2 separate regions of the Homo sapiens genome follow, and region 1 is linked to region 2. The links are contacts of gene promoters, found by promoter capture Hi-C in blood cells and fetal thymus (Javierre and others, 2016). All regions are on one chromosome and are shown on one strand. Each heading gives the region's core, a stretch centred on a gene start or on the middle of the fragment in contact. The rest is flanking DNA. Distances are from core to core; before and after follow the strand shown. Region 1 overlaps CAMK1D (calcium/calmodulin dependent protein kinase ID). Region 2 holds the start of NUDT5 (nudix hydrolase 5).

What was found. The method cuts DNA at HindIII sites, captures the fragments that hold promoters and counts their contacts. A CHiCAGO score of 5 or more calls a contact.
Region 1: a fragment that was not itself captured here is called in contact with the fragment with the promoter of NUDT5 in region 2 in 1 of 17 cell types (fetal thymus); the score reaches 7.1 in fetal thymus.

The regions. Positions count from the first base shown.
Region 1 is chr10:12,705,370-12,712,983 of GRCh38, reverse strand. All of the region lies in intron 3 of CAMK1D (calcium/calmodulin dependent protein kinase ID), which reads right to left. Among named protein-coding and RNA genes, the nearest start is that of MIR548Q, 16 kb to the left of the region's middle. The HindIII fragment of the contact is 1,535 bases long and covers 821-2,355 here.
Region 2 is chr10:12,189,648-12,197,225 of GRCh38, reverse strand. NUDT5 (nudix hydrolase 5) reads left to right here and starts at 1,335. Exons shown (of 10, transcript NM_014142.4): 1 at 1,335-1,456. CDC123 (cell division cycle 123) reads right to left here and starts at 1,038. Exons shown (of 13, transcript NM_006023.3): 1 at 907-1,038. The coding sequence starts at 980. RefSeq lists enhancers at 1,022-1,291, 6,298-7,148. The HindIII fragment of the contact is 3,617 bases long and covers 1-3,386 here.

The DNA of each region.
Region 1 (7,614 bases), core at 339-2,838, 520 kb before region 2:
TATTTTTTACATGCTCATGCCTCCCTCCTTTCACAGAGGGTGGGCTCTGAGGCTCTCCCAGGTATGGAACTGACAATGAAGCTGGCTGCTGCTAAGCTCAGTACCCTCCCCTTCGCTGCTTTACTTTTCTCATCAGTACAGGGGTGTGTGTGTAGGCGGGGGAGATAATAGAGTCTAATTCTCTGAGCCTGATAATCCTACAGCTGAATCTTCCCCTCCGTTATGGACTGAATGTTAGTCTCCCCTACCCCTAAATACACACGAAACCCTAACCCCCAGTATGATGGTATTAGGAGATGGAGCCTTTGGGAGACGATCAGGTTAGATGATGTCAAACAAATGGGGCCCCCAGGATGCGATTAGTGTCCCTATAAGAAGAGACGCCAGAGCCCTCTTTTTGTCCACCATGTGAGAACACAGTGAGAAGGAGGCCGTCTGCAAACCAGGAAGAGAGCCCTCACCAGGAAGTGAATCAGCCACCACCTTGCTCTGGAACTTCCACCCTCCAGAACTGTGAGAAATACACATCCACATTGAAGCTGCCCAGTCTACAGCGTTCTGTTGTAGCAATTCCAGCTAAGACACCCTTCTTCACCCTGTGTGCCCCTCCATGGCGCTGCTGCAGGCTGGCTTGGTATTATAGTTATGTGTGCGCCTGTCCTAGCTGTGAGTACTCTAGACACAGGGCTGCATCCTGACATTCCTGAACCTGCAACACTGACCCCAGCAGTGTGACGCTTCCAAAAACATCAGCTCCTATTGTCCCTGGAGAGCTTCAGTTGAAGGAGAGCGGAGCTTCCCTTAGGGTGGCCCTCAAGCTTCTTGGTGAAGTTCTTAAAAGCATCTTCCACATCTGCTATGTCCTTTGTACCTGATAAAATGCACAAATCAGCAAATAAACCTACTCTGCCCCTCAAAAGCATCAATCAACAAAGCTAACAGAGGAACAGCTGATACATTTGCCGATCACATTTTCCACTGAAAAACTTAGGAGAAACCTGATCTGTTGGTAGGGCACACAGAAAATCTGAAATTACGTCTGAGAAAAACATTTTACCTTTATGGGAGGTATACATCTAAATAGAAATATAAGGACAGAATTTTATTTTGGACCAAGTTATTTTTCATGGCATATTGAAAAACGAACGTTTGATCATCACTGCTGTCAATGTTGCCTTCATTCTAGACTAGCACTGGTGTTTCTGTAAAAACAGGGTGTAGACAGAGTAGATATTTAGATCTGCTAGAAAGGACAGAGACCAAAGTGGTGTGAGGACTCCGGCTCCGGGCCAGAGCGTCCTTCCCTGCCTCATATTAACAGGGAACGCAATGACATTCACCTCTTCTTATGAGAATGCAGAATATTTTACCTGGCACTGCTCTCTCTGAAAAGAGCAGCAAGCAGTACCAAGAAGCAGCAAATACCCTGGCAGATGATTTTAGGATCTCCATACTCTGACAAAGAAAAATATAAATGAACATAAAATGTAAAACATTCTGAAACTCCAAAAGGCAGGAATGAAGGGAATACGTGAGAGCTCTTCCAACGATGCATTCTCATGCATATTTATCTACAAGACAGCCTGCTGAGTTCATTACTGTCTATCACAGAGGGACTGAATTTCCTTTGCCTTTAAATGCCTGTCCCCTAAAGCAAGGTTCAGTTTCTCGCTCTGTGTTTTCCCCCTTAGCCTGCAGGTGGCGCCCCCGTTCCAGTCCCCTATGACCACTGCTGAAAATGGCTAGATCTTGGATTCCTCAGAAACAAGTTCTTGCCACATCACCTTATGCGACTGAAACAGGCGGTTTTCTCTTTTGCTTTTAGCCAGAACCCAACTGTTCCTGGAATCACAGGGCCAGAAGACTTGATTAAGCTGAAATTAATACCAAGAAATAGAAGGGGAGAAAAAGAGGACAGACTTTCATGACTGGGAGCTCTATCCAACAACAGGCTTATGTGGGAGGTGGATTTTGACTGCATGATGAAATACACAAGCAATACATTCAAAACCTTAATCCACCCAGCAAAGATCCATGGTATATAGTCTGAACAAGTTGATGAAAACTCCAATAGTGATTGATCAAATGTCAAAGGCAACAGACATTTGGATAACTTTTTATATACCCTGGTGTACACTCGGAGGTACATATCGCCGGTGGGGTTGTGTTCAGCCTGGATGTCTTTGTTTATATACCAGAGGTTCTGCTGTGTGATTAGTTATTTGTTCTTAGTGGAATACAGTGTAGGTCTTTACACACTCCCCCTCTTGCCTGGGTCCTGACTCCTAAGGTTGCATTTTCACTGGGAAAGGTTGGATCGCATTCTGGGCAGCAGCAGGTGGCTGAATCCAAGCTTGCTGGTGGCAAATTATCCTGGCCCCCATCCCACAACTTGCAGGACCTGAGCCCGAAAGAAGTCTGTACACCTGGTCTCTCAAGCCACTGTCAAGAGGGCTAAAAACTTTGACGTACAAAAGACTGTATCGAAGGCATTTGTTTCTTCTCTGTCTTTGTCACTAATCTGTGGGCTCTTTATTTTTCATGTTCATATTTTCCATAGCTCATGTCATTTCTAGCATATAATAGATGCTCAATAAACATGTACGGAATGAATGACAGGGTACAGCCAAATTACCGAAAGTTATCAAGACACTGTCCAGAAATACTCTGGTGGCAGTAGTGTGTTACTTACAACGTAAATCAATGTCATTACGTCGGGATCCAGCTGTTGTGCCCATTTACAGAAATATACTTTAGGTTCTAAGTGGGAAAATTAAAGAAGAAGTTAAGTGTCTGTGAAGCTGATAGTTACAAACGGTAACACTTAATTTTCTTCTGAAAGATGATATACTGCTCTAAGCATTTATATAGTATTTCATTTAATCCTCATGACAATCTCTGAGGTAAATACAACTATGATCACATTTTAGAGGAAACTGAGGCACAGAAAAGTTAAGAAGTTTGCTCAAAGTCACACGGTAACTTGAAGAGTCAGGATGCAAACCTATGCAGTCTGACTCCAGAGCTGGGGAAACAAAAACAAGAAACTGCAGGCATCGACTCTGCGTCCTTCAATTCCCTTCCTACTGGCTTTTTATCAAAGGTAATCTTTCCTTAGACATTTCCCAACTGCTAAATATGCCTACAATCCACCAGCTACCACATAATAAAAAAGTTAAACAAAGTAACAAAACTCAGCAGAAATACTTTGAAGCTGATTAAATCATAAATTTGAATGTTTTCCCGAGGCAGTAAGTAAATAGATATTTTCATGGATGTTGCTACAGAGAGGAAACTGAATCACTCCATAATCCTACAGCTATACAAGATATCGGGTGACAGATTAAAACACACAGGCCCTCCTCTCCACCTCTATGTACCTAGAGCACTAAGTTTCCTTTTCTTGTGAAAAAGCTTCTTGCTGTTTCTGAGTTTGCAGACTCTTAGCTTTGGGCTGTCTCAATACTAGATATTTTTATTCCCCTAAGATTTCAGAATGCATTCAGTTCTTTGTATCTGTCATATTTTCATTTTCCCTCCTTAGACTCTGCATTGCAAAGTCCTTTCCATTTGCGAGTTTGTTTCAACAATGGCAAAGAGGTGGGGACAGCTGGTGCCTTCTGCAGCCACTGTCTCCCTTTACCAAGAAAAAAAAAAAAATCCTCCAACCACGGCCTTAGCACTCCTCACATTTTCTCAGCCAAGAATTTTCTCAGCTACAATGTATTCCATCTTTACAAGCCCACAAGGCCTTTTTGTTTTTTTCTAATTTTCCATTTATATAACTGTGGAGGCTCCAAGCTCCAAGTCGGCTTTCCCAGAGCCTCCACAAAGAGGTTCTCACCCGCCCCCCACATAGGTGACTCACCCAGGAGGAAGGTCTGACAAGGAGGAAAGATGTCTGAGGCTTGGACCTGGGTAGCCACCTTCTGCCAAAAGATCTGTGCCCCCCACTCCCATGCCACAGTTCAGGCCCCAGGGCATGGGTGCCTGCTCCCTTGGCTGAGACTCGAACTGGGATGCCGTTAAGAGATGCAACTCCGGGTCGGGCGTGGTGGCTCACTGACTTCAAGTGATCCTCCTGCCTCGGCCTCTCAAAGTGCTGGGATTACAGATATGAGCCACCACGCCTGGCCTAATGGGATCATTGAAAACAAGCCCCACTACATCAAACAAGTCATCCATATTTAATAACCAATAATATCGTAGATTAGGAAGATCCTATTACCAAAGAGTCCCTAACAACCTCAAAATGAATAGAAGAAAACAGCCCACCTGTCCAAAAGGCCATGATGCTTATACTGTCTTGGGAGTTAATATCTGTAATTCAAGGAAACTGGCACTTTTAAAGAGGATAGGGACATGCAAATTATATTACAGGCAAAGCGTCAACTCTTTTGCTGAGGCCGTCTGAAGCTTTATAGAAACAAGTGCAAAAGTATATTATGGAGCTTAATGAAAAAATAAATTGTGTTTACGTGATCTTAATCACAGTTTTATTATTCTATATTGAGATCCAGCTGGGATCAGGGATTGGGTGGCAAGAAGGGAAGGGGGAGTGCACAGCATATGCGTTACTCTTCCTCTGCTTCTGTGCCCATCAGATGGAGTTACGGCGCTTCCTTCTTCTCCTTCCCTCCCTCCCATCACCACCCAAACTCCATCTCTTTCATAAACAGCATGTAAACGTATCAGTCGCCACTGGGACTTTAAGAACGTCTCCCAGGCATAAGCTGGGAGTGCACTGTCATTGCAGGATACTAGCCCCACAGCACAGGTGGCAGAGTGCAAGAGGTGCATACGTGGAACCTCTGGGGGGACTATTAAGGCCCTCACTAAAACCACTGTGTGTGCAGCACTAAATAAAATGTATTGTGTTGTAGAAATGTATTCTGACCTTTAGAGAGCGAAGGTTAAACTAAATACAATGGGGGCTCTAGCCGTGGCAATGACAATGCTGCCTCGGTCACTCTTAGGCAAAGTCTATCATAGGATTCCACGTAGGGTTACAGGTCGGGCAGAGGGGGGATCCCATTTACTGAGTATCTCCTATGGCCTGCACTCTGTGCTAAGCATATTTAAATCCTTATAAATCCTCCCAACAGAAGGCCTTGGAGGGAGCATGTTTATGGCTAATTTCACAGCTATGAACGTAGGCTCTGAGAGGGTCTTGCCAAACATAATAAACTTCAAAGGCAGGTATGCGAGGCCCCCTGGTGTTCTTGCTATGCCATGCTTCCTCAAAACATTTACTTGTCCTCCTCATACTCAAAGAATCCAAGAGAGATTAGAGACAAGAAACTATCATGTTGAATAAATTGGCCTCTGCCCTCTAAGTTCTGGAATTCCCCAGAGCTGAGCAAGCCTTCCCTTCCCTAGCTCTCTATTTTCTGACTGTGCTCATTCTGCGTCTGCTCTATAACAAGCTCCAGCAGACATTTCCTGTCCTTCCTCCGCAGGCTTTGGCCACCTGCCTTGCTGCCAATGTTTTATTTGACCCTCTACCTCTCCTCTCCTTTTTAATAAACACTTTAAATTCTTGTTGGGAAGAGGATATGGGATGCCAAATTGGATTACTAAGTGAGAACTCAAAATCAAAATGACACAGATCACATTTTACCCCAGTCAACACAAATAGAACAACAAAAACTTAACATATTCAAAACAAAAACACATGATTATAATACTACTTCTGATATGCCAAGCTTACAGTGAAACCTTAATTAGTCAGGCCTCCACTAACTGGCACGCTGAATAACTGGAATTAATTTTTTCTGAATTCTGTTTTTAAGCAAAAGAAGCAAGAGACAGCTAAAGTACATCCACTGCTGGCTGAAAGGAGCAAATTCCAGGCTATGTCCTGGGGCTGGGATCTGTCCACCTCTCCTTCCGTAACTCCTATCTCTCTCCAGCTGGAAAACTCTTTTATGTGCCTGTTAAGTTGTATTTTAAATATCTTTGTGATGGGTAATGTCTTCCCAAACCGCACAGTTTGTCCGTCTTCCTTTAAAATCCCAGATACCTTCATATGTATCTCCCTCTATTCTAGCACGTCCCACCCTAAATGGCCATCATGCTGATATATCTGTTTCCTCCTATGGACCAAGGGCCGAGTTATCACCTACTTCTGTGTTCCAAGAGCACAGCACAAAGCAGATGCTCAAAGGTTGCTTGTTTCAAAGAATAACTGAGGGAATGAATGGAAAACAGAGATCTTTTCTACATTCTTTTTTTTTTTTTTTGGAGACAGGGTCTTACTCTGTTGCCCAAGCTGGAGTGCAGTGGCACAATCTTGGCTCCCTATAATCTCTGCCTCCCAGACTCAAGTTGTTTACAACAAAAACACATGATTATAATCCTCCCACCTCAGCCTCCCAGGTAGCTGGGACTACAGGTGTACCCACCATGCTCAGCTAAGGGTTTGAAAAATTTTTTATAGAGATGAGGTCTCACTATATTGCCCAGGCTGGTCTTGAACTCCTGGGCTCAAGAGATCTTCCTGCCTTGACCTCTCAAAGTGCTGGGATTGCAGGTGTGAGCCACCACACCCAGCCCTTTCCACATTCTATCTCCATCTACACTGCTGTGCTGTGGTACTGAATTTCAGAAGGACGACACGGTAGCCCCCTTAGCCTCAGTTTCAGTTACCTGCCGTCAACTGCGGTCTGAAAATATTAAATGGAAAATTCCACATATAAACAATTAATACAGTTAATAAACAATTTTAAATTGCGAGCCATTCCAAGTAGCTATGAAATCCTGTGCCATCCTACTCTGTCTCACCCAGGATATGAATCATCCCTCTGTCCAGCCCATCCATCCAAACGTTGTCTACACTACCTGCCAGTTAGTCACTTAGAAGCCATCTCAGTTATTGGATTAAAAAACCTTAGTGTACACCTACTATCTGCCATTTCTACATCCACTGGGGTCTTGGGACACACCCCCCTCAGATAAAGCAGGACTACTGCACTGTAATTATCTAAATGGATAAGGATTAAATGAATTCAGTATAACTCAGTGCTAAATAGGGATGCTAAGTTATTATAATACATCCCATGAAGATGTTCAAGTACTGCCTGGCATCATGAAACCAATGGTTAACAGTGAGCATCACTTTTAGTTAAGGTAGCTGTTTAATAAAAGCATTCTTGTCCCTAGACACTCCAGCGACGTGAGATATTGCTCCTCTTAGACTAGCACGAACCATCCATCATACTTCAATGATACTGACAGAAAGCATGTCTCAGCCCTTGGCAAGAAGGCCGAACAATGGAATTCTGGCCCAAGTCCTTGTTAGGGGCAATGTCCTTTGTTTCTGGTTGCATTTACCTTGAGTAGGATTGTCTACATGGAGCCATACTCACAATCGAGGACCAGGCTGGTCTCCCTGAACCAGCATACTTTATACGAACACACCGTTCATGGAAGTGAAATAAGAGGTGCATAAAACAAGATGTTTATTATTGTTATGATGCATGGTACACTATTATTCTATTCTTTTCTTTTCTTTTCTTTTTTTTGAGCTGGAGTCTCGCTTTGTCACCTAGGCTGGAGTGCAGTGGTACAACCTCGGCTCACTGCAACCTCTGACCCCCGGGTTCAAGTGATTCT
Region 2 (7,578 bases), core at 86-2,585:
TCTATTTGCTGATTACAAATAAGCCTTCCTAAGTATTTTACTCTTACAAAGCTAACAAGCGAAATTGTTAAGTACAATGAATCTAAGGTTCTACCACACATTCCAATACTATTTAAGAACTTGAAACTTTTCTTATACATTTTAACCATTCTAAGCCAGTTACACATTTTCAAGTACATATCCGATCTTTATTGAATGAAACCATCATATAATGAATCAGCAATTACTGAAATGTTGGCTCAGAAAATCAGTTAAGTGCAAAGCCCAGATTTTCTATCAACGCCTTTAAAAAAACTGAGAGATGAAATTGTATATATTAATACTTGCCGCCTACCTGATGTTTTTAAGTATATATACACTGTGGAATAAATTTAGCTAACAAATGCATTGCCTAACATAGTTATTTTTGTGGTGAGAACACTAACATCCACTCTCCGTTTTTCAAGAATACGTATATCGTCATTAACTATAGCCTCCATGCTGTACGACATATCTGTGAACTTGTTCTCGTATCTAACTGTAATTACGTATCCTTTCACCTTCCCAATCTCCATCCTCTGGGGTGATGGCGAAAAGCAATTAATTCTCCGAGTGCACTTAGGCAGTGATCACCTTGCGCCTGGGGCCATTCTAAAAGTAGTGGTGGTGAACTCCCAAGCCTAAACTAGGTTAATCCACTATTCCTCCCGCCTCCGACCCTCACTGAAAACCACAACTGACCCTCCTAGCCAGCACACTCGCTGGCTCGCAACAGGACGCAGACAATTGCTGATGTACTTCCCTCTCGACACACTCCCTCCCATGCAGTCGCTAGAAGGCCTGCATTTTTTTGGATAGCAGTAAGATTCGCTCAGAAGTCGCAGTTCCCTTTTGCCGGTCGACCGGGCGAACCCCCTCCCATCTCACCTCTTGATGGTAACGCCTCGGAAGAACGGGTACCACGCGGAGAACTGGCAGTGAAGCACATGCTCCTTCTTCATCCTCCAGCTGCCGCCGCTGCTGCCTTTCCCTCTCCTGCCTGCACCCTCCCGGAACTCTGGGCGCCGGCCCCGGAAGTGCCCGCCGAGCTATTTTGGTTCAAGGACTCTTCCGGTCCCTAAAGCAAGAAGGAAGACCGAGAAAAGGAAGCGGAGGAGAATCCCGGGGCATACGCTTGACACACACGCATACAAAAAGAGCTTTAGTCTCGAAAGAGGAATTACCGAAGTGTCGAGAGAGGAATTTTAAGAAGTTTACAACTCCGTCTTCGCCCTAAACGCACGCTGACCCGGAAAGTAATCTCCTGAAGCTAGGTCAAAGGCGGGGGTTCTACGGATGCCGGAAGGAGGGTGCGCGCCCATCCTTTTAGCACCGCGAGAGGCGCCGGTGTTTCGAGCCGTGGCACCGGCATCGGCTGACACTGCTGCCTCCAGCTAGTTATTTCGTCCTCTTCCGTTCTTCACCCCTACACCTTGGAGTAAGTAACCGGGGCAAGCCAGTCACAGCACAAAACCTCTTTGGGGAGGAGAAGAAGAAGGGGAAAGGGACCACATCTGCATGGTGCGTGCAGCCGCGCGGTGTCTCCCAGGCTGCGGCTGGGCACGCGTCCAGGCGCCCAAGAGGGAAACTGGGGATTGGAGGGAAATTGTGGATTGGAGAGGAAGAGCCTGGGCTACTCCGAGTAAAGAAAGCGGGGAACACCACAGCTAAGTGTTAGTTCCAGTGTAAAGATTGCAGCATCTGCAGAGGAGTAGAATGCTTGGTAGAGGGAATACCGCCTGTACGATCCTGGAGGGTTCGACTTTGGGAGGTAAAAGGCGAGAGGTAAATGTGAGAAAGCAGAGGAAAGAGGAGTCTCCTTGGAGCGCTGAATTCGTTTAGTCTGGCCTCGCAAAAGTTGTCAACCTGGAAAAAACGCAGATTTTTATCAGTATTCCTGCGATGATCGAATCATAAGACTGGAAGAATTCGAATCGAACTTGTACTATCGTTTTTTCCTTTGCTTCACTCCTGTCACCCAGCAAAGTTCAGTTTTGTTTGTTTCGTTAAAAGAATGAGAAGTAACTAGCTGCTTTTATTTATTTATTTGAGACGGAGTCTCACTCTGTGCCCAGATTGGAGTGCAGTGGCGCAATCTTGGCTCACTGCAACCTCCGCCTCCTGGGTTTAAGTGATTCTCCTGCCTTAGCTTCTCGAGTAGCTGAGAGCGCGCGCGCGCCACTACGCCGGCTAATTTTTGTGTTTTTAGTAGAGACGGCGTTTCACCATATTTGCCAGGCTGGTCTCGAACTCCTAACCTTAGGTGATCTGCCCGCCTCAGCCTCCCAAAGTGCTGGGTTTACAAGGCGTGAGCCACGGCCCCGGGCCTACCAACCAGCCGCTTTTAACCCCTAGTCGTGTCGCTTACCACACGAGCTTTAGGCTTGCGCGAGGCATCTGCGTCTAAAAGTATCTCCTTAAATGTACATTCTTCCTGGTTCACCTAAGTAGTTTTAAATTAGAAACAGCCCCACCGACTGCAGGCCTCTTCAGAAGGGTGTTCCTTAGAATAATAAACAATTATCTGCGTATTTTGAGTTAGAAACTCTTCCCCCCAGGAATATATACATTGTTTTGGGTTGTGTTTTGTTTTTCTCAAAAATGTTACTGGCTAAGTGGCTAGTTGGAAGCAGTGCTTTAAAGAATACATTTTCAAAGCAGAGGTAAATAGATTATAATGTTGCAGAGTATGTTGGTGGGGATGGACAGTCATGATTCATCATTTATGCCTTGATCCGGAACTATGCAGTCCTTTCTGATTTGAGGGAAAGAAGCAATATTGTATATATGTCTGGAGGGTGGTGCCAGAAAGACTTAATGGCAGACAGGAGCAGTCGCTCAAATAATTGTTTTGATTTGACTTAGAAAGTAAAAAATTGCGCGGAAGGAGATGTTAGCATCGATGGGGGATTTATTTAGGTCAGATGTTTTCTAATGAAGATAGGAATGAATGTACGGAAGAGAATAGATCCCGGGAACATAGCCCTTCTGCGAGGAGCAGTACTTTAACAGCCCAAGAAACATTTGAGCATAGGCCGGGCGCGGTGCCTCATGCCTGTGATCCCAGCACTCTGGGAGGCCGAGGCGGGCGCATCACCTGAGGTCAGGAGTTTGACCAGCCTGTCCAACATGGCGAAACCCCGTCCCTACTAAAATATCAAAAATTAGCCGGGCGTGTTGGCGCATGCCTGTAGTCCCAGCTACTCGGGAGGCTGAGGCAGGAGAATCGCTTGAATCCGGGAGGCGGAGGTTGCGATGAGCCGAGATCGCGCCACTGCACTCCAGCCTGGCAACAGAGCGAGACTCTTTTTTTTCCGTCTCGGGAAAAAAAAAAAAAAGAGTGTAGAGATTAAGGCAGTTGCAAAGCTTTAATATAGAATTGCAGTTGTGTGTAGAAAAGCAGCTAAGTTTGTAAGCTTAAATATATAGATACTACAGGGAAGGAATTTTTATAGATACCTTTTATTCAGGCAGTATACTTTAGAAGTGTGTTCAATGACTTTTTGGTATTACAGTTGGTTTTAAGTAACTTGTTACACATTTAACCAGCATCAAATAAATTGACATTATACATAGGAGATGCTCAAATACTTTGAATGGATACAGCTAAATGAGGGTTCACTGTATTTTAACCACCGTGGTTGTCTTCACTAAGCCATGAAGTCATTGTATTCATCAAGTTTCTCCAATAAAACCTTTCAACAGTGGAAATATTTGCTTTTTCTCCTGCATGCTGAAAAGTCAGTAGTCATGTGATTATGGGGGAGGAGATTTATTGTGCAATTCCTAATGAAGTAATGAAAAAACACATTTCTTTCTCTGAATCCATAGCATGACTAATCATCCTAGATTAAGATTTTCACCTGTCTGCTGGTTTTCTTCATCTGGATGTCTGCTATCACCTCAAACAAGCGTGTACAGATTTGAGCTCTGCATCACCCCTTTTTTCTTCCGATGTCCCAGTCTCCCTTAAAACTGTCTTCGTGGAAATTAAATGTCACTTTGCCACGGCTACCACTCTACTCCAGACCTGTCATCTCCTGCCTGGACTATCTTTACAGTGTCGTTACTATACGTCTGTAACCAATTCACCTTCCCAAGGGTCATTACAGTCAGTTCACTCTTGCTCAACCAGCATTAAATGTGAGGATTTTAAACCACCTGCTAAATGATTCCTGGAGATCACCAAGTAGCATAATTTCAGTAAACGTTAATTACTCCCTGCCCACCCAACTGCCACACCTGAAGAGAATGAAAAAAAAACCCATAAGTGAATTCAATTGTGGGTACCCAAATTTTTTACCATAAATGGCACAAAAGAAGGATACATCAGAATATTATCCTTTTTTTTTCTTTTGAGACAGAGTCTCGCTCTGTCGCCCAGGCTGGAATGCAGTGGTGCAATCTTGGCTCACTGCAACTGCTGCCTCCTAGGTTCAGGCTTTTCTCGTGCCTCAGTCTCCCAAGTAGCTGGGACTACTGGCGTGTGCCACCTCACCCAGCTAATTTTTTGTATTTTTAGCAGAGATGGGGGTTTCACTATGTTGGTTAGGCTCGAACTCCTGACCTCAAGTGATCCACCTGCCTTGGCCTCCGAAAGCGCTGGGATTACAGGCATGAGCCACCGAGCCCGGCCAGAATATTATCTTTTAAAAATAGAATTTAAAAATTTTTAACTATGACCAAAATTATTAAATATAACTGCAAATTATTTGATTCTTTGTTCCTTCTAAATCAAGTGACTTTTCTTTGTAATTATTCTGCCAGAATGTAGATTGCCACTTTAGACATGCCCAATTTGATGCCTGACTTTAACAAGACAATCATAAAGTAAGTTATTACTGCAAAAAAAATTGATCCTCTCTCCCACTTAATTTCTTTTCTTTTCTTTTCTTTTTTTTTTTGGAGACAGAGTCTCACTCTGTCACCATGCTGGAGTGTAGTGGCATGATCTCGGCTCACTGCAACCTCCACCTCCCTCGTTCAAGCGATTCTCCTGCCTCAGCTCCCCACTTAATTTCTTTCAAAGTGCCTTGTTGATTTCCCTATTCAATTATTAAACTGTTCCAAGTGCCTGACCCTCTTTTGTCAGTCAGAGGCTCTACTTATGATGTGGGCTCCTGCATCTTGTATTTGGTTGAGTATTGTTGATATTAACAATATTCATCTTTTATCAGGAGAGACCTAGCCAACATACAATTTCTTGTTAGGATTTTTTGCTTCACTTTGCAGCCTCAGCAGATGGCCGGGATTCGGGTACGGTGATTGAGTAATGAGCCTCAGTGCCAACTGCAGAACCAGGCTTTTGAGTTCATAGTTTAACTTCTGGAATCTAAACTCCCACTTAACTCTTTATGCAGCTGTTGTTACTAATACTGGCATACTGAAGTTGGTGAAAAATTAATCACTTCCTCCCTTTCTGTAGAGGGCTGTACTTGCTGCCTAACCCCAAAATTAGTTTATTTTGGTGTTTGTTTTTTCATTTTTTACATAGGATCTCACTATGTTTCCTAGGGTCATCATGAATTCCTCAGCTCAAGCGATCCTCCCACCTCAGCCTCCACAAGTAGCCGGGACTATAGGCACATGCAGTGCATGGCACTGGCCCCCAAAACTACCTCATATCACAACAGTAATTTGTGCCATGCCAGTTAGCTTTGTGTGCTTTGTTGGCCTGCAGTTTTGGGGGCAGAGATCCAGCCAAATCTGTGTATGGCCTTAGAAATGTGTTCGCAAATCATCATTATATGTGGAGTTGTTTTGGGAGTTTTGTGGTGGTGGTTTTTCCTTTGTGGTTTTTTTTGTTTTGTTTTGTTTTTGTTTTTGAGACGGAGTCTTGCTCTGTCGCCTAGGCTGGAGTGCAGTGGCGCAATCTTGGCTCACTGCAAGCTCCACCTCCCGGGTTCATGCCATTCTCCTGCCTCAGCCTCCTGAGTAGCCCGGACTACAGCGCCCACCACCAAGCCTGGCTAATTTTTTTGTATTTTTAGTAGAGATGGGGTTTCACCATGTTAGCCAGGATGGTCTCGATCTCCTGACCTCGTGATCCACCCGCCTCGGCCTCCCCAAGTGCTGGGATTATAGGCATGAGCCACTGTGCCCGGCCTTTCCTTTGTTTTTTAAAGGAGAAAGTGGAGGAGGAGCTTGAGAACCACAGAGCTCGCCATACACTCAGAATTTCTCACCCTTGCCCCGGTGTCTCTGCCTTTGTTCATGTGGTGTCTTCTAGTTGGAATGCTTTCTCTGCACTCTTGGTCTCTAAACCATGTCTTCACATCAAACTATCTTTTAAAAATCTTGGCTGGGTGTGATGGCTCACCCCTGTAATCCCAGTGCTGTGGGAGGCCGAGGTGGGTGGATCACTTGAGGTCAGGAGTTCGAAACCAGCCTGGCCAATATGGTGAAACCCCGTCTCTACTAAAAATGCAAAAATCAGCCGGGTGTGGTGGTACAGGCCTGTAATCCCAGCTGTTCAGGAGGCTGAGGCAGGAGAATTGCTTCAACCTGGGAGGTGGAGGTTGCAGTGAGCCGAGATCATGCCATTGCACTCCAGCCTGGGTGTTGCAGCGAGATTCAGTCTCAAAAAAAAAAAAAAAAAAAAGGCTTTATCATTTTCCTCACTGCCTCCCAAGGGGATGTGTGTGTCCCTCCTTTAAAACATCCTGGTATGGTGGTGTCTCTGAGGCAGGTCTTTGCCCCAGATGTGCTTGCTAAACTGTAACGTGCTCAAGGGCAAGCATAGTGGTCAGTGTGCACTGAGTATATACACAGACGTTTCCACTGCTGGTGCTCTCGAAGCTAGTTAGAGACTGCTAGTTAGCCTGCCACTGTGCAAGACGTCTAAAAATCTTACAGCATTTCCCCTCACTAGTGTTTTTTTTATGCTCTGGAGAATTACACATCCAACACATCCTAGACCTTCAGTGTTCAAACTGAACTGAGTTAAAACGATTTATGAGAATTAAAACAGCTTGTGACTTTAAAGACTAAGGAAAATCATAAATGAAATTGTAGAACACTCGCTGGCGCGGTGACTCACGCCTGTAATTCCAGCACTTTGGCAGGCCGAGGCGGGTGGATCACGAGGTCAGGAGATCGAGACCATCCTAACACGGTGAAACCCCGTCTCTCCTAAAAATACAAAAAATTAATCAGGCATGGTGGCAGGTACCTGTAATCCCAGCTACTTGGGAGGCTGAGGCAGGAGAATGGCATGAACCCAGGAGGCGGAGCTTGCAGTGAGCGGAGATCGCGCCACTGCACTCCAGCCTGGGCGACAAGGCAAGACTCTGTCTCAAAAAAAAAAAAAAAAATTGTAGAACACTCAACATCGTGTACATGTATCTTTTTCATACCATACACATATTGGCAATATGCAAATTACCTTAAATTCTAACTAATGAAGTGGATAAAATTTATATCAAAGTTTGCTTTTAAATCTTGAAATAGCGTTGAGTCAGTGAAGGCAAACTCCGTTGCAGTGGCGGAGACGCTGGCTTACAAAGCACGGAATTTAAAGCTCATTTCTCGTTCTTTCTGCAGCGTGTTGCTGGCAGTGAC